7 separate regions of the Homo sapiens genome follow, and all the other regions are linked to region 4. The links are contacts of gene promoters, found by promoter capture Hi-C in blood cells and fetal thymus (Javierre and others, 2016). All regions are on one chromosome and are shown on one strand. The core of a region is centred on a gene start or on the middle of the fragment in contact, and the rest is flanking DNA. Distances in the headings are between cores, read along the strand shown.

What was found. Contacts are between HindIII fragments. The CHiCAGO score rates a contact against its expected background, and 5 or more counts as called.
Region 1: a fragment that was not itself captured here is called in contact with the fragment with the promoter of PLAG1 in region 4 in 1 of 17 cell types (neutrophils); the score reaches 6.8 in neutrophils.
Region 2: a fragment that was not itself captured here is called in contact with the fragment with the promoter of PLAG1 in region 4 in 2 of 17 cell types (neutrophils and total CD4 T cells); the score reaches 8.0 in neutrophils.
Region 3: a fragment that was not itself captured here is called in contact with the fragment with the promoter of PLAG1 in region 4 in 1 of 17 cell types (total CD4 T cells); the score reaches 7.1 in total CD4 T cells.
Region 5: a fragment that was not itself captured here is called in contact with the fragment with the promoter of PLAG1 in region 4 in 1 of 17 cell types (neutrophils); the score reaches 8.0 in neutrophils.
Region 6: the fragment with the promoter of PCMTD1 here is called in contact with the fragment with the promoter of PLAG1 in region 4 in 4 of 17 cell types (activated CD4 T cells, total CD4 T cells, naive CD8 T cells and 1 more); the score reaches 16.5 in activated CD4 T cells.
Region 7: a fragment that was not itself captured here is called in contact with the fragment with the promoter of PLAG1 in region 4 in 2 of 17 cell types (neutrophils and total CD4 T cells); the score reaches 8.7 in neutrophils.

The regions. Positions count from the first base shown.
Region 1 is chr8:60,660,251-60,662,956 of GRCh38, forward strand. No RefSeq gene overlaps it. Among named protein-coding and RNA genes, the nearest start is that of CHD7, 17 kb to the right of the region's middle. The HindIII fragment of the contact is 4,989 bases long and covers 1-2,706 here.
Region 2 is chr8:60,644,219-60,646,918 of GRCh38, forward strand. No RefSeq gene overlaps it. Among named protein-coding and RNA genes, the nearest start is that of CHD7, 33 kb to the right of the region's middle. The HindIII fragment of the contact is 2,613 bases long and covers 1-2,592 here.
Region 3 is chr8:51,880,516-51,883,537 of GRCh38, forward strand. All of the region lies in intron 1 of PCMTD1 (protein-L-isoaspartate (D-aspartate) O-methyltransferase domain containing 1), which reads right to left. Among named protein-coding and RNA genes, the nearest start is that of PCMTD1, 17 kb to the right of the region's middle. The HindIII fragment of the contact is 1,504 bases long and covers 769-2,272 here.
Region 4 is chr8:56,209,845-56,212,597 of GRCh38, forward strand. It overlaps PLAG1 (PLAG1 zinc finger), which reads right to left and starts at 1,429. Exons shown (of 5, transcript NM_002655.3): 1 at 1,277-1,429. CHCHD7 (coiled-coil-helix-coiled-coil-helix domain containing 7) reads left to right here and starts at 1,945. Exons shown (of 4, transcript NM_001011671.3): 1 at 1,945-1,993. RefSeq lists silencers at 1,414-1,973, 1,816-2,041 and an enhancer at 2,054-2,123. The HindIII fragment of the contact is 9,849 bases long and covers 1-2,753 here.
Region 5 is chr8:60,686,123-60,689,184 of GRCh38, forward strand. All of the region lies in intron 1 of CHD7 (chromodomain helicase DNA binding protein 7), which reads left to right. Among named protein-coding and RNA genes, the nearest start is that of CHD7, 8.9 kb to the left of the region's middle. The HindIII fragment of the contact is 2,689 bases long and covers 82-2,770 here.
Region 6 is chr8:51,897,598-51,900,297 of GRCh38, forward strand. PCMTD1 (protein-L-isoaspartate (D-aspartate) O-methyltransferase domain containing 1) reads right to left here and starts at 1,439. Exons shown (of 6, transcript NM_052937.4): 1 at 1,333-1,439. It overlaps PCMTD1-DT (PCMTD1 divergent transcript), which reads left to right and starts at 1,718. Exons shown (of 4, transcript NR_189279.1): 1 at 1,718-2,249. RefSeq lists a silencer at 946-1,635 and enhancers at 1,676-1,965, 2,136-2,195, 2,496-2,555. The HindIII fragment of the contact is 4,691 bases long and covers 1-2,700 here.
Region 7 is chr8:60,524,786-60,527,755 of GRCh38, forward strand. All of the region lies in intron 1 of RAB2A (RAB2A, member RAS oncogene family), which reads left to right. Among named protein-coding and RNA genes, the nearest start is that of RAB2A, 9.3 kb to the left of the region's middle. The HindIII fragment of the contact is 2,790 bases long and covers 225-2,970 here.

The DNA.
Region 1 (2,706 bases), core at 180-2,679, 4.5 Mb after region 4:
TACATTTAAAAAGATACCTAAATATGACATCATAATCCAGATGAATCTAGATTTCAAAGGTATTCCTACCCAATCTTAATCTCCTTTGTTGGAAAGTCTGACATTTAGACTCAGTAGTTCTTACTCCAAGCAAGTCACTACATTTCCAGGGGTTTTTCTCTTATTAGGTAGTACAAGAATCCAGCGCTGTGACCTTCTTGGGATGAGGCATAGATGTAAGCTGAAAGGGAGTGGAGATAAAGGTATAAGTAGAGTGAAAGGCTCAGTAATTATATACAAATAAAGGATTTTACATGTTGACACTTTTGATCATGACCCCTGAGCCTCACTGGCTGGATTTGCTTTCTACTGTGTTTTTCCCTGGACTTTCTGGGGAGGGTGCTCTGCTCTCTACCAGGCACCTGCAGTTCCACCCCGGGCAGCTGGAGGGCTCTGTTCCACCACGGGCCACTGTGAACGCACATTTATTACCCGGTGTCAGTTGACGCCCTTCTCCAATCGCCCAAGAGAAGATGGCTTCAAAGGCCACAAACAATCTCCACGGCAGGACAGAGTGCTGGCTGCCGCTGCTTGGGAGCCAGGCCTGCACCCCATAGAGTCAGCTCTGGTTTAGAGCCAGCCCTTCCACCCTTGCCACCTTCAGCCGCTAGCCCAAATCTCAACGCTCTTCTCGCCCATTCCCAAACATCTCTGCGCTTCTCCCTTCCCCATCCGATCATTTCTGTTTCCATTATTTTTCTTTCTTCGCAGTTCCTTCCACGGTGTCTTTGGAAATGCTGATTCCTCTCTTGGCTTTGTGCTGTTTTTATTCGCCAAACCTATTCCGTTGTAAACCGACTTCTCTGAATCTCCAACCTCACCACAGGACCAGCCCTCCTTCCCTCTTCCTTGGCTGAGGGTGCACCGCTCCTGCCTCAGCATCTCCTTGGGCTCTGTAAGTTGCTTTCTTTCTTCCTGCAGACTTGCAAGAGCTCCCCTACTTTGAAAGGAGTCTTTGATGCTCTGTTCCTTTCTCTGCTTTCATCACCAAATAAGGAAATTCATAGTACCCTCTGCTCCCATGGCTTCCCACCACTCCTAGCTTAATTTTTTGTCATCTAGTTGTACTCGACACATCTCTATGAAATGAACACCATGATATCATCAGTGAACTTTGAATTATCTAATTCTCTATTTTACCTAATCTGGTAAAGGCATCAGACTCCTTGATTGTAACATGGCACCATTGCCATTGCCCATTCATCAAAATTTTATCTTGTGGCTGTCCCACTGGCTCACGCCTGTAATCCCAGCACTTTGGGAGGCTGAGGCAGGCAGATCACTTGAGCCCAGGAGTTCGAGACCAGCCTGGGCAACATGGGGAGACCCTATCACTACAAAAATACAAAAATTAGCCAGGTGTGGTGGCGCACGCCTGTAGTCCCAGTTACTCATGAGACTGAGGTGGGAGGATTGCTTGAACCCAGGAGGTTGAGGCTGCAGTGAGCCATCATTGCACCACTGCACTCCAGCCTGGGTGACAGAGCATGACCCTGTCTCAAAACATTTTTTTAAATTTTGCTTTCTGTCAAACTACATATTATGGTGTTTCCTTACCTTTTATGATATTGTATTCAGTAATAAAATAATAATATAGCAAACATTTAATGAGCACTTATTTTGTGACAGGCAGACTATAAGGTGCTGTATACACATGTTTCATTTAACCTTCAAAATAACTCTATGAGGTAGAGGAAATTATTATCCCTACTTTTACAGATAAGAAAACTGAGACTTGGTGGCTTACAGAAGTTAAGTGATGTGCGTAAGATGACAGATCTAGTAAGAGTGAGAGGTGGAATCAAACCCAGGCTTACTGAATTCCAAAGCACTGATTTTTTGCCAGCAGAGTGCATTGTTACTATTCTGGAAATCTGTAGTTCCTCTTTTCCTAATTACACTTTCAATATGAAACTTTCCCAGGACTCAGTTTGGGATACCTGCTCACCTGTCTATAGACATTCACTTTCACAGGGAAGTGTTGACTTTCGTGGGGTGAACTCTCTCCTTTACTTACTTTAAAAACCTGTCACTATGGAAAAAATTTAAACATACACAAAAATAGGAAGAACTGTATAACCACAACCCCCTCCCCAGGTACTATCACCCAAGTCCAACAATCATCAATTTCTGGCCACTCTTGTTTCCTCTGTACCCAACTGTCCCCATTTCCCACCCTCATTGGGTTTTTTATTTATTTACTTTTGAGACAGGGTCTTGCTCTGTTTCACAGGCTAGAGTGCAGTGGTGCGATCACAGCTTACCGCAGCCCTGACCTGGAGGTTGAGGGGCTCAAGTCATTCTCCTACCTCAGGCTCCCAAGTAGCTGGGACTACAGTTGCATGCCACCACACCTGATTAATTTTTGTATTTTTCGTAGAGACAGGGTTTTGCCATGTTGCCCAGACCGGTCTCAAACTGCTGGGCTCAAGGGATCCACCTGCCTTGGCCTCCTAAAGTGCTGGGATTACAGGCATGAGCAAACGCGCCTGGCCTATCCCACTGGATTATTTAAGGCAAATGCCAGAAATCATATCAGTTCATCTGTAAAGATTTCAGTGTATATCTCACACATATAAGGACTCATTAAAAAACCCCAACCACAATAACAAAAATATATCTAAAAATTAAAAAGAATTTCTTAATGTCAGTGAATATTCAGTGACA
Region 2 (2,700 bases), core at 36-2,535, 4.4 Mb after region 4:
TCTGTGCCCTCTTCCCCTGTAGCTGCAAGCCAAAGAATGCCAATTGCAGGAAACCTGGAAGCTAGGCTGGGCCAGGAAGGTTTCTACCCAGCAGCTCAGAAGGAGCATAGCCCTGCCTGTAGCTGGATTTCCCACTCTTGTCTAGAACTGTGAGAGAATACAGTTCCGTTGCTTCACGCCACCCAGTCCCTGGTACTTTCACAGCAGCCTTAAGAAACAAACACATTTTAAATGTAATGCTTACACACTGAATGACAATCCTCCACCACTGTTTGTTTTTTTGGTTTTACCTTGGTGATGATATAATTTGAATTTGAACCACAGGATGTTTTTGGGTTTTTTTTTTTTTGGTTTGTTTGTTTTTGTTGTTTTGAGATGGAGTCTCACTCTGTCACCTAGTCTGGAGTGCCGTGGCTCGATCTCGGCTCACAGTAACCTCCGCCTCCTGAGTTCAAGTGATTCTCGTGCCTCAGCCTCCCGAGTAGCTGGGATTACAGGCACGTGATTACAGGCACGTGCCACCATGCCCGGCTTTTTTTTTTTTTTTTTGAGACGGAGTCTCGCTCTGTCGTCCAGGCTGGAGTGCAGTGGCATGATCTCGGCTCACTGCAAGCTCCGCCTCCTGGGTTCACGCCATTCTCCTGCCTCAGCCTCCTGAGTAGCTGGGACCACAGGTGCCCGCCACTACGGCCGGCTAATTTTTTGTATTTTTAGTAGAGACGGGGTTTCACTGTGTTAGCCGGGATGGTCTTGATCTCCTGACCTCGTGATCTGCCCGCCTCAGCCTCCCAAAGTGCTGGGATTACAGGCATGAGCCACCGCGCCCGGCCTTTTTTTTTTTTTTTTTTTTTTTTTGTACTTTTAGTAGAGATGAAGTTTCGCCATGTCTTTCGGGCTAGTCTCGAGCTTCTGGCCTCAAACCATCTGCCCGTCTCAGCCTTTCAAAGTGCTGGGATTACAGGCATGAGCCACTGCACCTGGCCAGAACCGCAGTATTGATGGAGCTCCGTGAGGTGCATACTCCTTCTCATTCTACTGAATCCTTCCACTTTCTGGAAACCTGCAAAATGGCGTACAGAATACACAACGGGGTTCCCACTGTGAGAGCTATGGGGGGTTCTGGTTGGCCTCAGTTTGGGGTGTGCTCTCAGCCCGGCTTCTCCTGTGGTGGGGTGCATGTGAGTCCCCTGAAGATGTCTTTAGACTCTGGGTCAGACGATCCAGGTACAGCCATGAGGATGCTGCTGGCGTTCAAACCACACTTGTGACAAGGCTTTCTGTTCACAACCCATCCAGGTCCAGGGAAAACTGGGCTCATTTAGAAGAGTGCAAGGGACAGATTTAGGGAAAGGACGAAAGTTTCCCAAACATGGTGTGAATCCTGCTGGCTCTGGGATACATGCTGTAACAGCAACACAGAGGACCACATTTCACCAGAATTATTGCTTTTATTGCCAAGGTCTTAGGTCTTTTGGACTCCAAGTTACTGATGAAAAAACAGTTAAAATGCCTTGCATGAAATCAAAGAGATTTTGTTATCAGCTCCCCAGTTACCTGCTTGGCAGTTGCCTCTTATCTCTCTCTGGGATTTTAAAGCTCTTCCTAAGTCCAGATGCCCTGAACACTTAAAGATGCTCTAATAATAATAATAATGTTAAATTAATTAATAATTGTAAAGGAAGTCCAATTATTTTCATTCAAACATCTAATTATTAAAGCAAAGAAATTTATTGTTGGGACACATTAATCACTGTATTAGGGGTGATGGTGGGGTGGGATGAAATATAAGTAGGTGTTGCTTTTTTATGTTAATATTTGACAATGTGAGGAATGATTTCAGCAGATTAAGAGCAGCATTAATGATACATCAGAAGCATCAGCTCTCATTCGTCCTAGGCTACAGCATTACAAGCAACCATAACCATCCACTTAACATCACTAGAGAGAAGCGCTAGACATTGAGATGGCCACACTGTACCAGGAGTGCCTTCAACATGGTCCTGTGACTGCCTCTGGGCTGACAACTCCTCCCGCTGCACGAGTCATCGATAGCATTTCTTCACTGGGCTTTATTACTGTGAAGAAAACCTTTTTATTTCTTTCATGTGATTTGACACTAGGAATTATTAAAAAGAACTTAAAACCAAAGCCATGACAAAAAATAAAAAACACCAATATGCTGTGAATGTATCATTTTTATTCCTGGGACTGGTTTTATTATTTTTGGAACTATTACAAGACTTCTGTTAAACATGTTGAATGTTAAGAGGAAACAGACTCTCAGCAAATGTTGAAAACCAATTACAGAAACGTCCCTGCTAGAACTAGAGAAACACAGGAGGGACCGAGAAGAAGTTTGCCCTCCCCCTTCTCCCACTGCCCAAAACACACAGATGGTGGAATTCCCGTGAAGAAAAATACGATGATTACATTGTGGTCCTTATTCTTCTGTTCACAAGCAAAAAAACACTAAAATGATACTTCTGAGTCAAACCTATTTATAATGAGTTCAACATAGGATTATTTAAGGCAAATCTGATACAGGAAAAACTCATATAACTTACAGAATGATTCTTTACTATACACAAAAAAAGCTTCACCACTAATCAAGAAATCAAATTACATTACATTTAAAAACACCTAAATTTCAAATATTAATTTATGGAACTTTCAGGAGCACATCGCTGTAAACAGTACTGT
Region 3 (3,022 bases), core at 271-2,770, 4.3 Mb before region 4:
TACTGTAGTCTTCTCTACTCCCCAACTCATACCATAATCAGGGGCATCCTCAACGTACATGAACAACCTTTTCAATCTCCAAAGGAACAACTATGACACCTTTAACTGAGGACTTATATCACCCAATTGTCCAACCTGAATCCTTACTTTTTTCTCTGACCTGATTTTATGTCTACTTTGCTTGTTGTCTGCCACTACAGTCAATGTCACTAGTACTCTACCCCAAGGATCAGCAAACTTTTTCTGAAAAGGCCAGTTAATAAACATTTTAGGATTTGCAGGCAATAGTTTCTGTCCCAACTACTGAACACCACTGTTGTAAGGCAAAAGTAGCTATAGACAACTTAAAAGTTAAAGAGTATGGCTTTGTTCCAATACAATTTTATTTCTGGACACTAAAATTGGAATGTCATATCATTTTCATGTCATAAAATAGTCTTCCAACCATTTGAAAGTAAACACCATTCTTAGTTTGCAGACCACACAAAAAAAGACAGTAGTCCAAGTTTGGCCCATGGGCTACAACCGGCTAACACCTACTCTCATCTTCTTCCCAAATCAACCCCACGAACACTGCTTCACTTACTGAGTCTTCATTACTCTCAATCCTTCATTCTAACTTTCTGCTTCACTCATCTTGCAAACTTCTGATCATGGAACAAGCCAATAATCTCTCTTCTCCATGGACTGTTTTATATTGTGAAGTGTTACTTAAGAAAGAAATCCAGTGCCTGTGTTGGTGGTGCCACTAAACATTTATATTCTTCAAGCTTAACTGGATTTTCAATAATGCCCAGCAATATCTCTTGTGTTTATTTACCTCTGGCTCCCACCTGCACAGCAAATTCATTACCACTACTACAACCAACAACCCCTCAAGACTAGGCTCCACAAGGGTCCTTCTTCGTCCTCCACAGAAAAACAGGTCATAAGACAAAACGCCTCAATTTGCCAGACTGTCATCCTAATCCCATCCCATTAGACAAGAATATTACAAATATGATAGCATCTATATTTACATCTACAGACAGGCAGAGTGTAGTAAGTTCAACCTTCATTTGGAGCCCAACAGATCTGATTTTGTCCAACTTAATTAATAATTACTACACTTAGTAGTTGCCTGGCATTCAACCAACTGTTTTAGAATTGTCTTTTAATTATTCTTCAAAAAAACCTTCAAGGTAGGTTTTATTATACCCATTTTACAAAGAAAAAAATTTAGAGCTGGGCTTAAAACCTCGGTGTAAGTCAAAAGCCACAGAACTTTGCTCATATCTGGGCTCCATTTTTTTCGATTTCAAAAGTGCATTATCTAATCTGAGCCCTGAATACTATTTCAGGGGCACCTCCAGCCATCTCTCCTCCCACAGCCTTTGCTGAAGTTCCCTTAACCACAATAAACTTCTTCAAGCATCCATGTTTTTGCATATGCATTAAGTCTCTACCTAGAAAGTTCTCCCTGTTCACTCAGATGCCACTAATGAGTCCCCCTCCTCTTAGAAATCTCTAAGTCCAACCCCAAAACACTTATAAGCCTTAGTCTTTTCAGGCGTCATAACAAAGTACCATAGACTGGGTGCCTTAAACAACCCAAATTTATTTTCTCAAGCTAGAAGTCCAAGATCAAAGTGCCAACAGAATCACTTTCTGGTAAGGCCTCTAGGCCTCTCTTCCTGGCTTGCCGATGGTCACCATCTTGCTGTGTTCTCACATGACCTCTTCTTTGTACACACAAAAAAGCATGAGGGAGCTCTCTGGTGTCACTTTTTAAAATGACGCTATTGGATCAGGGCCTCACCATTATGATCTTAATTACTTCCTCGGAAGCCCCGTATTCAAGTACAGCTGCACTGGGCATGGGGTAGGGGGCGGTCAGGGTTTCAACACGTGACTTTTAGGGGGACATGAACATTCAATTCATAACTGTACCTTCTTTCAAAAGCTCTCAAACACCCGCCTATGTATCTCTGTATCATCTCTCCACAAAGTGATTATCCTGTTTCCCACCCACTTGACTGTGGCCTCTTCAAAGTAAGGGTCTATATGCTAGTCACTTGTTTACTTCTGACACTTAGTTGAATGCCTTATAACAAAGATATTATTCAAGATCCCTGCTAATGAGTAACTGAGTGTAGTTTCTCAGTTATTTAAGATCATGAAAAGAACAGAAGACATATATCTATGTACTTGACAAATTATACACTCCACTGGACATTAACATAGCCTGTTTGGGGTATTATATTTCATTGGAGAGAAAACGCAAGTCTTTAAAAGCTTACAATTTAGTTATGAATAGCATACTTAAAAAAAAAAAAAAAGAAATAAAAAACGGCCGGACGCAGTGGCTCACACCTATAATCCCAGCACTTTGGGAGGCCGAGGCAGGCGGATCACGAGGTCAGGAGATAGAGACCATGCTTGCTAACACGGTGAAACTCCGTCTTTACTAAAAATACAAAAAAAAAAAAAAAATTAGCCAGGCGTGGTGGTGGGCGCCTGTAGTCCCAGCTACTCAGGAAGCTGAGGCGGGAGAATGGCGTGAACCCAGGAGGCAGAGCTTGCAGTGAGCTGAGATCGCGCCACTGGACTCCAGCCTGGGCGACACAGCGAGATTCCGTCTCAAAAAAAAAGAACAGACAAAAAAAGTAAGGTAAATGCTTCAGAGTTCAAAATGAGAGCAAATCAACAAGGAATATAATAGCTAGATGGAATAAAACCTATGAAACCAAAAGTATTATCATCAGATTATAAAGTATTTAAACTTGTAATTTTCCATGGCCTGAATTAAATTAAGTAGCAAAGACTGTAGTACAGATGCCACAGTTCCCATTAAAGGTGAAAGAGTTGATACTTCAGTGTCCTAAGGCTAGCAAGTGGGGAGATTGTTATTAAGAGTAAAATGTATATATATGCATATATAGATAATAATAGAGGGACACACACAAAAACACAGGGAGAGCAAAGAAATTCAACAGATTTTCTTCTTAATTATTAATGCAATATTAAACCACAGTAAATCTCA
Region 4 (2,753 bases), core at 179-2,678:
AATGCGACGAAAATGCAATCTAAAGCCGGAAAGGTTCATTCTTCCAATCACACATATTAACTCTATTAAGAAAATGGCATCACTTTTTTTTCCACCCAAAAAAACCCCGCAAAGATCATTAAAAGAGAGTTATAAAATAGCAAATATAGTGTTTATCTTATCTGAGATCAGTCCACATTACCAATAAGTTTAGCAGTTTCTGCACTACCACCTCCCCCCTCGCTCCCCCTGCTTCTCTTGCATCGGATTTTCACGTTTTCTCATTGTCGGTTGAGTTATAAAAGGCTTTTGCCCTTCGAAAGTTTTAAAAAATAAATAAATATTAACTCCTTGGTCCCTGCAAAGTCAAAATGGACTTCAGGGGAAAGGCGGTACATACTTTTACCTTTAGCGAGAAAAGGGGGAGCATCCCGGATTTTTAGGGATTTTTTGCGATTTTTTAAAAATTTTTATTTGGTTATATGCCTGAGTTCTCCCTCCATTTTGGTTGTTTATGATACTGACAACAAGCTGTCCCTGCTCTGTGCCGATCTCCTGCTTTCATTTAGCACCCCCTCCCCCTACCCCCCCTCGCAGCCACACACCCCGGGCTCACACCTCCCTGCAGACCCCGCACCCCGACCCCGGCTTGCCCACCTGAGGAAAGGGCAAAAACAAATTCATTTCTCCAGAAAAGAAAAACCTCTTTTGAAAAAGGGGCAAAGTTACCCCAAGTCACTCAAAGTGCCCCCCAAATATTGCCGACTGCGGGTTTCCGCCAGGCCCTTTGGGAAGCGACCTTCCCCCGGGATGTTTTGGTGGAAAATGCGGAGAGTTTACTCTCAAAACTGAATTTATATTAATTTTTCCCTTATTTTTCGGGTCTCTAATGTCTTCCGCTCTCGCTGCTGCCGCTGCCGCTGTCACAATATTCACAGCACCAGAGAGGAGGAGGAGGAGGAGGAGGAGGAAAACTTTTCAAACTTTCCAGACCCTGAATAAAGGTTTTTTTTTTTTTCCCACCGACCTCACCTTCGGGTCCCCAGCCGCATCGCCCCCTGCCCTGTCAGAAGCGACTTCGGGAGTCCTCGCAGCCCCGCGTAATTATTTTATTTTATTTTTTATTATTATTTTTCTCTCTGGGGTCCTGAGCAGGGGCTGAGAGTAGCACAAACTTTTCCTCCTCCTGCCGCCGCCGCTGCTCCTCTGCCCCCTCGGCTAGTCCCATAATTTAAATAACCCTGATATTTCTCCCGCTAAACGCCTCGCCGCCGCCCCGGACCCCCGGAGAACTCACCGCGGGGCTTTAACATCCTCCCTCCGGCCCGTCCGCCGCCTCTACACCGCCCGCGGAATTTCTAATAATTTTTTTCTCATATTTCGGGCTGGACGCGGCGGGCCTGGAAATTGTTTCCTTACGCCTCTTTCCAGCAGCCATTGTAGTGTATGCGCTGCCCCTGCAGCCCAACTTGCAGCTGCCGCCGCCGCCGCCGCCGCCGCCGCCGACGTCGCGCCCACCGCTGCCTCCCCCTGCCTGTTCGGCCACCGCCCCCGCCTCCCGTCGGCCCGCCCCCAAACCCCGCCCGCCGCTGCGCCCGCCCCCCGCGCGCGCTCCGCCCGAGAGCTGGCCACTCGGAGCCGCCGCTGGCGGGAGTTGGCCCGCCCATTGGGCCGCGACGCCGCCCGTCAAGCCGAAGTGTTAAGAGACGGGCCGCGGCTGGGGGGCGCGGTGGGGCGGGGGAAGAGGGGGCGGGGTCGCGCTCACCGCCCCGCCCACTCCTCCCGCCTCGGCCCTCCTTTCGCCAGGCGGGGGCGGGGCGAGGCCCGACCGCCCCTGCGGCCCAGGGCCCCGCGCGGCTGTCAGTCTGGCGGCGGCGCGCGCCGATTGGGCGGGCTGCCGCCGGGGAGCGGGGGCAGCAAGTTGGGATGCGCGCTACTTAAGGTCCTGCTGCGTGAGCCATTGACGTGTTTGGAGCTGGAGACGGCCTGGGTGCTGGCGAAGCGGAGGCCGGAGGTGAGTGGTTCCCCCGCCCTACCTCCGAAGCGGCCGCAGAAAAGCGGGGAGAGAGGGGTGCCCTTGGGCCGTAGCGGGGCCCGAATGCACTTCTGCGGCGCGGAGGCGCTCCCGCCAGGCTTCGCCGCAGCGCGGACCTCTTCCCGTTGCTCTTCCTCCCGCCACACGGGTCTGTTCGCTCCGGGGGCGAGGAAGATGACCTCTGCCTAGTCCGGGCAACCCCAGCTCTTCTTCCACTCTCCTGTGTAGCCTCTGAAGCGCAGTTACCGGCCCCACCCCCAGTTCCCTGCGTTTTCCTCGCCCCTTGTCTCTCTCGGCATGGTCTCGGCACAGCAAGGTGTGTTCACCTGTGCGCGCCGTCCAGGATCAGATGCTGACGGGCTACACCGCGGAAGGCGGCGAGGCCTCGGGTTCGCCCTTCGTTTCTCCTTGCCCTGCGCGCCCACCTCCGGCAGGCCACCCTTGACTTCTTGCCCCCTTCCACTTTGCACCTGGCAGTGGGTTAACGGCACGGCGTGTGCAGCTTCCGGGTTTAGCAGAGCCGCGGACCCTGCCTGGGCTCCGACCACGGGGCGTGTGGGCATGAACGTGTTCAGAAACGTTTCCTTCCCCCTGCCCTTTCAAAGCTACTTAGAGAGGGGGGACGTGAACCACTGGATGGGAAATCAGGAACTGCTTTATTAAGCAGTTTGCCCTTTGGAGTGGATTTTAGAGTTATCCCCTGAATGTGCTATGGTTTTGTGGCCCCTCCTTCATATCT
Region 5 (3,062 bases), core at 176-2,675, 4.5 Mb after region 4:
CTGTCTTGTGTTGTTTGTAGGGACATGCTTCATGTGAAAGTTTACCTTCACCTGCAATAGTTTTGAGTGATTATTTGAATAAGCTTAAATTCAGGAGAAGTAATGTTTCCACGTGTGGAATGGCAGGAAAACTTGGTGCACTAACTTCAGCTTCAGATGGGCTTGTGCCAACTACTCTGTGGCAATTTATATCTAATACTATTTCTTCAACTTGCCAGTTTTTCTTAAAAAAAAAAAAAAAAAACTCTTTAAAATACATTCTGTCATTAGGTCCAGCCAGCAGTGTATTCTTAGGGTGTAAGAGATCATTTCTAAGAGGTGTAGACATCGAATGGAAAGGCGCATGCAGGCCCCTGTGGATGTGGCTTTAATGGAAGAATAGAGGGGATGCTTCTTTGGGGCCTGCCTTCTCTCCTGGCATCTGCAGTGGCTGAGGAGGCAGCAGAGGTCATGTGGTGGATTTGAGTTTTCCACCATGTATTTCATCAGGATGAGGTTGGGCAAATAGCCATCTGCTGCTGAGCAGGGACCGCGTGCGACCTGGGTTTCCACACCCACCCTTTGTGTAGGGAAAGGTGTGCAATTAGACACATGTGTTAGGTTGGACACATCACCTCCTTTCCCTAGTATCCTCAGTGTAAAACAGTCAGATTTCTATACCATATTTGCAGTATGTCTAAAAAAGGGTACATGGCACCTTACTAGTTAATTTTCTTTCTAGTTCTGCAGCAAGTTTGGGGAACTACTTTAACTTTTTAGAGGCCACTGTGTCCTCTTTTCATCATTTTGAAAGAAACCACAAACATTTTATTTGTTATCCATTTTTGTTTTGTTTCGTTTTCGAGATGGGGTCTCACAATACTGTCCAGGCTGGATTCTAATTCCTGAGCTCAAAGGCTTTTCCTGCCTCAGCCTCCCAAGTAGCTGGGATTACTGGCATGCACCACTGTGCCCTGTTATATCAACATTTTAGAAATCTGTCTGTTGATATTTAAAACATAATTAGCAAATGTGCATATTATTTCAACACACCTAAAAACTATTAAACATCTTTAACATAATACTAAGCAGTCATAGTGAGAAGTCCCTCGAAGAATTATAAGCATGCCTTTAGTTTCCAAGGCAGTGCTTGCTAGCATACTAAGTGAATAATAAAATCAGTTTGAGCACAGGAATATGATAAAAAAAAAATACCCCAGTTGGTGAAGTATTTTGAAGTGTATGAGCCTAGCAATTATTTATGGTTAGAACTGGCACTATATTGAAATTGTTGAGCCCATATCCTTAAATAATTTTTTAAAAGTCTCTGTTAAAGTGTTTTATGTTCTTGTATACTTGGCCTTGTTTGTGCTTGAAATTTTGCTTTCATTAATCTCAAGTGTACCGATCTTGCAAGAAAAATCATACATATTCATCTTGAGAATTTCAAAATCTTGATTAACAGTGTACCCCACCCTGAAGTATATGTTGGGCCAATCAAGTAAAATAGTGCAGAAATAATAAAACAATATTAAAAATAACAGTAATAACCATAATGACCGGCTGTTATTTCCAGTTGGGTAGTTACTCAGCTGAGTGTTGTCATGGATCATTTCATTTCCTCATCAGAGCAACTCTAGGTAATAGGTAGAACTATTATCCCCATTTTACAGATGAGGAGACTAAAAGGGATGAGAAGTTAAATTACCCAGGGCCATACATTTCTAGCACGTGGTGGAGGAGGAATTTGAATCCAGATGAGCTAGACTCCACAATCTGTGTACATAAGCATGGTGCTGCTGTTGCCACGTAGACCAGCTCTGGAGCTTGCATTGTTGCCGTCTTAATAGACAAAGGTGTGTTAAAAATACCCATGCCATGCTGTGATGCTACCTATTGCTGTGTCTTACCAGCCCAGGCTATTTTTTTCTGTACTTCCTCTGTTGGTGCCTGCTGTAGTTGTGGGGCCATATGTCATGGGATGTCTTCGTACCTAAAACGACCAGGTCCTTGCCTTTCACACTTAAGGCCCTTCTGCTCACATGGAGATGAGGAGAAGAGTTGTTCTTGTGGAGGTTGCCTTCTGAGGCGGCTGAGAATTTGAGTTTTGATGTCGGACAGATACGGGTGTGAATCATAAAAATGGACATAATACATTCTCCTAACTGCCCAGGGTTATGGTGAAGGTTAAGTGAGGCACTCCAGCTAACATACTTGGTATAGCATATGGCATATTCATTGAGTGGTTACTATTTTTATTAGTTCAGTTTAATCATGGAACTTATCAAATCATATGTATTGCTTTTACTTTTGTTTTAAAAAGTCCCTCAAACCATAATCCTACAGATGACTGGACAAGAATGAGTGGCCTAAAATGGTGACTGGCTACACAATTTTCATTTTTCTTCAGGAGAAGACATTTGAAAATAACATCTTTATGTCCTTTGTCCATCAGTGCAACCAGATGTTATTTGCCTAATTCTCTTGTTGATTATATAGAGTTGATTCAGATATCCCAGGTACTAAAAGTGACAGGTTTGAGGGAGTGCTTATCTCTTGTCCTGAAGATGTTCATCTCCTACCAGAGTTATGGCTGTCCTTCTAGTGAAACAGTCATTTCTTCTTTGTCCCAAATCTGCAATTCTCCAAACATGGTGGGTGATGTTATCCTAGATGATCAGTGGTGTAGGCATGTTTGATCAGCTCTGGGATATTACGGTTTTCTGATTTAGACCAGAGGTCACAGGGTGTTCTCAAAATCTATAGGAGCTCCAGATCCTCAAATCTCAGAAGCTTTGATTCCTCAGTCCCTTCCTCCCAAGTTCTCTTTACCATGTAAAGAGGAGACAAGATGGTATCTGAAATGGGAGTAGGCTTGGGTTGGGGTCAGGGATGTGAGTAGCAACTAGAACATAAGAAGGTTCTTAGGAGAGGGAAGGCTCTGGGGTAGCCTACTTAGAATCTCACTGCTACCCAGATTGGCAGGGAAATGGAAGAGATGGAGTATAGACAATTTTCATTTTATTCTATTCTATTTCTTTACTTGAAAATGACTTGGAATAACAAAATAAGTGAGTCAAAAA
Region 6 (2,700 bases), core at 189-2,688, 4.3 Mb before region 4:
TTAAGCAATACGTAAACATATTAATCTGCTTAATACGAAAGTAATGTCGTCTGGCCGCAGACATTCTGAAAGTTTTGCCACATTGTTTCAAAATATTGGCTTGTAGCCCTTTTCAAAGCTACTGATTATTGAAAACTTGGCGACCATGTTTAACAATGAAGAAAAGGCTTCCCCAAGCCTACGTAGATTGGATTCTCTAATACATAGTAATAATGTTTTTTAAAATAATGAGGTGTGTAATAAAATGGAGGAATATCCATGATGCATTGTTGGCTAATAAAACGATATACTGTACTATATATGATCCCAATCTTGTTTCTAAAGCACACTCATTAAATGCACAGAAAAAAAAAATCCTGAATAACTACCCACCACACTTGGAGACTGGCTACCCTGGGTAGTAAGAAGGAGAAATATGGGGGGAAGGGCGCGAGAGAGGGCAGGTTTCCTCATTGTTTGGCTGCTTCATGTTTTTCTCAAGGAGCAAGCAGTACTTTTGTAATTAAAAAAATAAATAGGGGAAAAACACTGCTAAAAGCATACTTTTTTCCTCCGTAGCAAATTCTTCTGATTTGTAATGTTAAAAATATATCTCTGGTTTCTCGATTCTAAAAAGAGGACACACGAAAACAAAATTATAGAAGTTCCAAAAAATCTTGGATTTGCAAAATTACTCCCTCGGGTTCTGCCCGTGGGTCCTCCCCATGCCGGTGTCTGAAATTCCCCAAGCAAAACGCGGGCACTGCACTTCCCCGGAACGGTAGTAGACGCTCAAAAACACAAAAAGAGGCCTTGGCGCCTGCTATAACCTCTCAGTCCCCTCCCAGCCCCCGAGACTTCCCCGAGTCTACGTAGACTGGATTCTCTGCCTCCAAAACCAAAACAGAAGTCACTGGGCGGATCCAAAACGGCCCTAAGGGGCCCGCGGGCATCTCAAGACGCCAGCCTCGGGACTCTGGTCCCCAAGCCCAGGTCAGAGCCGAGGACGAGCCGAGGACGGGCCGAGGACGCGGCGCCCCGGCCTCCCTCGGGCCCCCGACCTCCCCGGCCCCAGGGACCCCGGCTCCCGACCTCCAGGCTTCGCTGGGCCCCTTTCGACTCCCCGACCTCCCAAGTCCTCCGCCCCCGGCCCGTCCTTCCCCCAACCTGCCCCGCAGCGCCTCAGTTTCCTGGCCCCCGACCTGCCCGCCCTTAAGTCCCCCTGCCCCCGACTCTTCGGCTGCCGTCCCCCTGGCCCTCTGGCCTCCAAGCGCATCCCAGTCGCCCGCCCGGCCCTAGCACGCGGGACTCGCACACCCCACGACCCCGAGCCCCCACTGGCGGCGGCGTTACCTGTGGCGCGGGCAGCGGCGCGCAGGCCAGGCGCTAGGACTCGGCGGGGTCCGCAGCAGCCAGACGCCGCTACCACCACAATAACAACACGGACGCCACCGCCGAGTGGAGAGGCGGGGCCCGGACCCGCGACTGGAGCAGCCAGAGCCTCCCGGACTCCGGAGCCGCCGGGGTCCGGGCATGCGCAGAGAACCACGGGCACAGGGGCAGCTCCCCGCGGACGCCAAAGTCAACAAGGCCGGGAGACGCCCCCATCTGGCCCCGCCCCCCTCAGGGCTCGCTCCGCCCCCAAGCCCAAACAACGCGAGGCCTTGACAGGCCAGAAGACGATGGCGGTAGGGGAGATCACGCGAGAGCATGGCCTCCACCTCTCCTCCCCACCGCCATCTCCACGTTCTCGCACCGGCGCTGGGGTGCAGGCTTTCAGTGGTCTCAGGGCTACGGCTTGTCGGTGCCTCGCCGCACAGTCCCCTTTGCATTGAAGGACACGGTCTTACGGTGTAGGAGCATTTTTGAGGTGCATTCCTGGATTTGGAGGCGAACCCCCAATGGTTACCTCCACAGAGGCTTTGCGAAGGGCGCTCACTGACTTAGGTGAAGAGCGAAGGCTCAAGACTGTGCCGCTTTATAGTGGCCCCTTGACGTCCAGAAGTTCCCCCCAGCGCCGGTCATAAGCACTCCCGCCGCCTGGGCCCCGCCCTGCCTGCCAGGCGCCCTCCAGCCTCAGCTCCCGGACGCCCGGCGTGGCCGCTTTCTCGCGTCTTGCTGACCCGGGCCGGGGGCGTGTGCTCCTCCTGCAGCGGACGGAAGATGCTGGGCCACGCAAGTTTCCCTGGGCTTGGTTAACCACCCCAAAGCCCATTTCCAGAAGGAAAGGGTGTTGAGGAGGAGGGATAGAAAGTCGAGAAGAGGGCCGGGTGAGTGGCTCACGCCTGTCATCCCAGCACTTTGGGAGGCCGAGACAGGCGGATCACCTGAGGTCAGGACTTAGAGACCAGCCTGGCCTACATGGTGAAACCCCGTCTCTACTAAAAATACAAAAATTAGCCGGGTGTGGTGCCGTGCGCCTGTAGTCCCAGCAACTCGGGAGGCTGAGGTAGGAGAATCGCTTGAACCCGGGAGTCGGAGGTTGCAGTGCTGAGATGGCACCTGGCCTGGGCGGCAAGAGCGAAACTCCATCTCAAAAAAAAAAAGAAGAGGAAATGAGGCATAGGGGCAGGCGAGCCGGGAAAATATTGCTACTAAGGATCCTAAGCAGTGAACATGCTGTTAATACTTGTAAGACTCCTAGCAAACTGCATTTAATTTTTTAAATTAGTTTTAGTGTACATAAAGGCATGTCTTTTCCAAATACTGTACTTTTTGAAG
Region 7 (2,970 bases), core at 370-2,869, 4.3 Mb after region 4:
CTGCTGGTAAGCCATGGGCCTTTTTTGCTTATTTTTCTAAAATTGATTCTTCTTTTTCTGCTGCCAAGTTTTCTGCTTTGGGGGATTTTATTTAATCCCTAAGGTGTAGCCAGACTGAATTTGTATGGAATTCTCCATCACATTAGCTTTTGGCATTGTGGTCTGTATAGCAGATTCTCATGAGTAATCCTCCACACTTTTTATAGTTCCTACACCATATCAAAAGCTTATTATCTGTTAATTCTTCAACAGATACATGAGATTACTGTTTTACAGATGGAGAAACTGAGTTGTGTCATTTGGGGCAAATTATCTTAGTAGATGGTTGATCTGGTTTGGCTCTGTGTCCCACTCGAATCTCATCTCAAATTTTAATTTCTGTAGTCCCCACGTGTTGAGGGAGGGATCCCATGGAAGGTGATTGGATCATGGGGTCAGTTTCCCCCATGCTGATCTGGTGATAGTGAGTGCTCATGAGATCTGATGGTTTTATAAGTGTTTGACAGTTCCTCATTCATACTCTGTTTTTCTCCTGCCGCCACGTAATATGTGCCTGCTTCCCCTTCTGCCATGATTATAAGTTTTCTGAGGCCTCCCCAGCCATGCAGAACTGTGAGTCAATTAAGCCTCTTTATAAATTACCCAGTCTCGGGTAGTATCTTTATAGCAGTGTGAAAACGAACGAATACAGTGGTAGAACAAAGATCTAGGGGTGTCTGACTCCACGGGCCATTCTCTTGATTACAGGGTGGTCTGGCTCCATTCCCCTTTGCTCTTTCTTTCCCCATATCTTCTGAGTTTTTACTTTTCATAGCCATAATGTAGCTTTAGGTTTCTCCCAGTTCTCACTTTAAAATATTCTCATTTTCAGGTATAGCTGAGAGTCACTGTGTTTTTAGCCAAATCTAAGGGAGAAAATGAATATTGATAGCAGCATGCTGTAGCCAGCTCCTTAAAGGAAGGATGGTGCCTGGTACAGAGTTAGAGTTAGTGCTTCAGTAAATAATGAATGTGTGCTAGGTAGGTTCTGCTGGGTAGGCTGCATGCATTGACCAATTTATTCCTCCTTGTTTCAAAACAGGATTTAAGGGCACTTATATATATATATTTTTTAGTTTTTTTAATGTAAATGAGAGAATAAAGATATATATATATGTCTATATATGTATATATGTATATATATGTCTATATGTCTATATGTATATATGTCTATATGTATATATGTGTGTGTGTACATATATATATATATATATATATATATATATATATATAAGTTTTCTGTTGCTAGCATAACAAACTACCAGAAACTTAGCAACTGAAACAACATGAATTTATCTTACGGTTCTATAGTTCAGAAGTCTAACGTGTCACTGGGATGAAATCCAGGTTTCAACAGGACTGGGTTCCCTTCTAGCTCATTCAGCTACCTGGCTCATTCAGGTTGTTGGCAGAATATACTTCCATGAAACTGTAGGGCTGAGACCCCGTTTCCTTCCTGGCTATCATCTGAGAGCTTTTCCCGACTTCTAGAGTCCACCCACCTACCCACATCCCTTGGCCCATGGCCCCCTTCCTCCATCTTCACAACCAACAACAGTGGGTCACGTCCTTCTTGTGTCTCATCTTTCTTGTTGGGCCATCCCAAGTCTCTCTGTTTTAGGAAAGGTTTTCCACTTTTAAGGACTCATGTGATTAGATTGGGCTTACCTGGATAATACATGCTAATCTCCCCATCTCAAGGTCTAATCTTAATCAAATCTACAAAATCCCCTTTGCCATGCTAGGGTAAAATATTCACAGGTTCTGGGGATTAGGATGTTAATATCTTTTGGAGGGCATTTTTCCGCTTACCATAAAGGCCTGCATTAGTCCATTCTCACACTGCTATAAAGAACTACCTGAGGCCAGGCATGATGGTTCACGCCTGTAATCCTAGCACTTTGGAGGCTGAGGCGGGTGGATTGCTTGCGCTGAGGAGTTCGAGACCAGCCTGGGCAACACGGTGAAACCCCATCTCTACTAAAATACAAAAAATTAGCCAGGCGTGGCGGCATGCGCCTGTAATCCCAGCTACTTGGGAGGCTGAGATGAGAGCATCATTTGAACCCGGGAGGGAGAGGTTGCAGTGAGCTGAGATGGCACCATTGCACTCCAGCCTGGGCGACAGTGCGAGACTCCATCTCAAAAAAAAAAAAAAAAAAAGAAGTACTTGGGACTGGGGAATTTATGAAGAAAAAGAGGTTTAATTAACTCACAATTCCACAGGCTGTAAAGGAAGCATGGCTGGGAGGCCTTAGGAAACTTATAATCATGGCAGAAGGTGAAGGGGAAGCAAGCACATCTAGCCATGTCAGACCAGGAAAGAGAGAGTGAAGGGGGAAGTGCTACACACTTTTAAGCAACCAGATCTCGTGAGAACTCACTGTCACTGAGAACAGCAAGGGGAGGAATCCACCTCTGTGACCCAATCAGCTCCCACCAGGCCCCTCCCCCAACATTGGAAATTACAATTTGATGTGAGATTTGGGTGGAGACACAGAGCCAGACAATTTCAAGGGCTAAGGAGCAAATGGTAGAAACAGTAAAATAAGATCAGAAGAGGTTTAATTGACTCACAGTTCTGGAGAGCTGGAGAGGCCTCAGGAAAATTACAATCATGGCAGAAGGCAAAGGGGAAGCAGGCACCTTCTTCACAAGGCGGCAGGAGAGGGACAATGGAGGAAGGGCCATGCCTTATTAAACAACCAGATTGGCCACTCCCCTAGCATGTGGGGATTACAATTCCAGATGAGATTTTCATGGGGACACAGAGCCAAACCATATCAGGACATTTATACTCAAAGTCTATGATATGAGGTGGTGTAGACTTCTTTGAAGTGGTCACTGAATTTAGCACTAACCAGTGCAAAAAGACAACCCTGCTCATTTACCCTAATCATAGTATCCATTATTTTTTTTTTGAAGTATGTT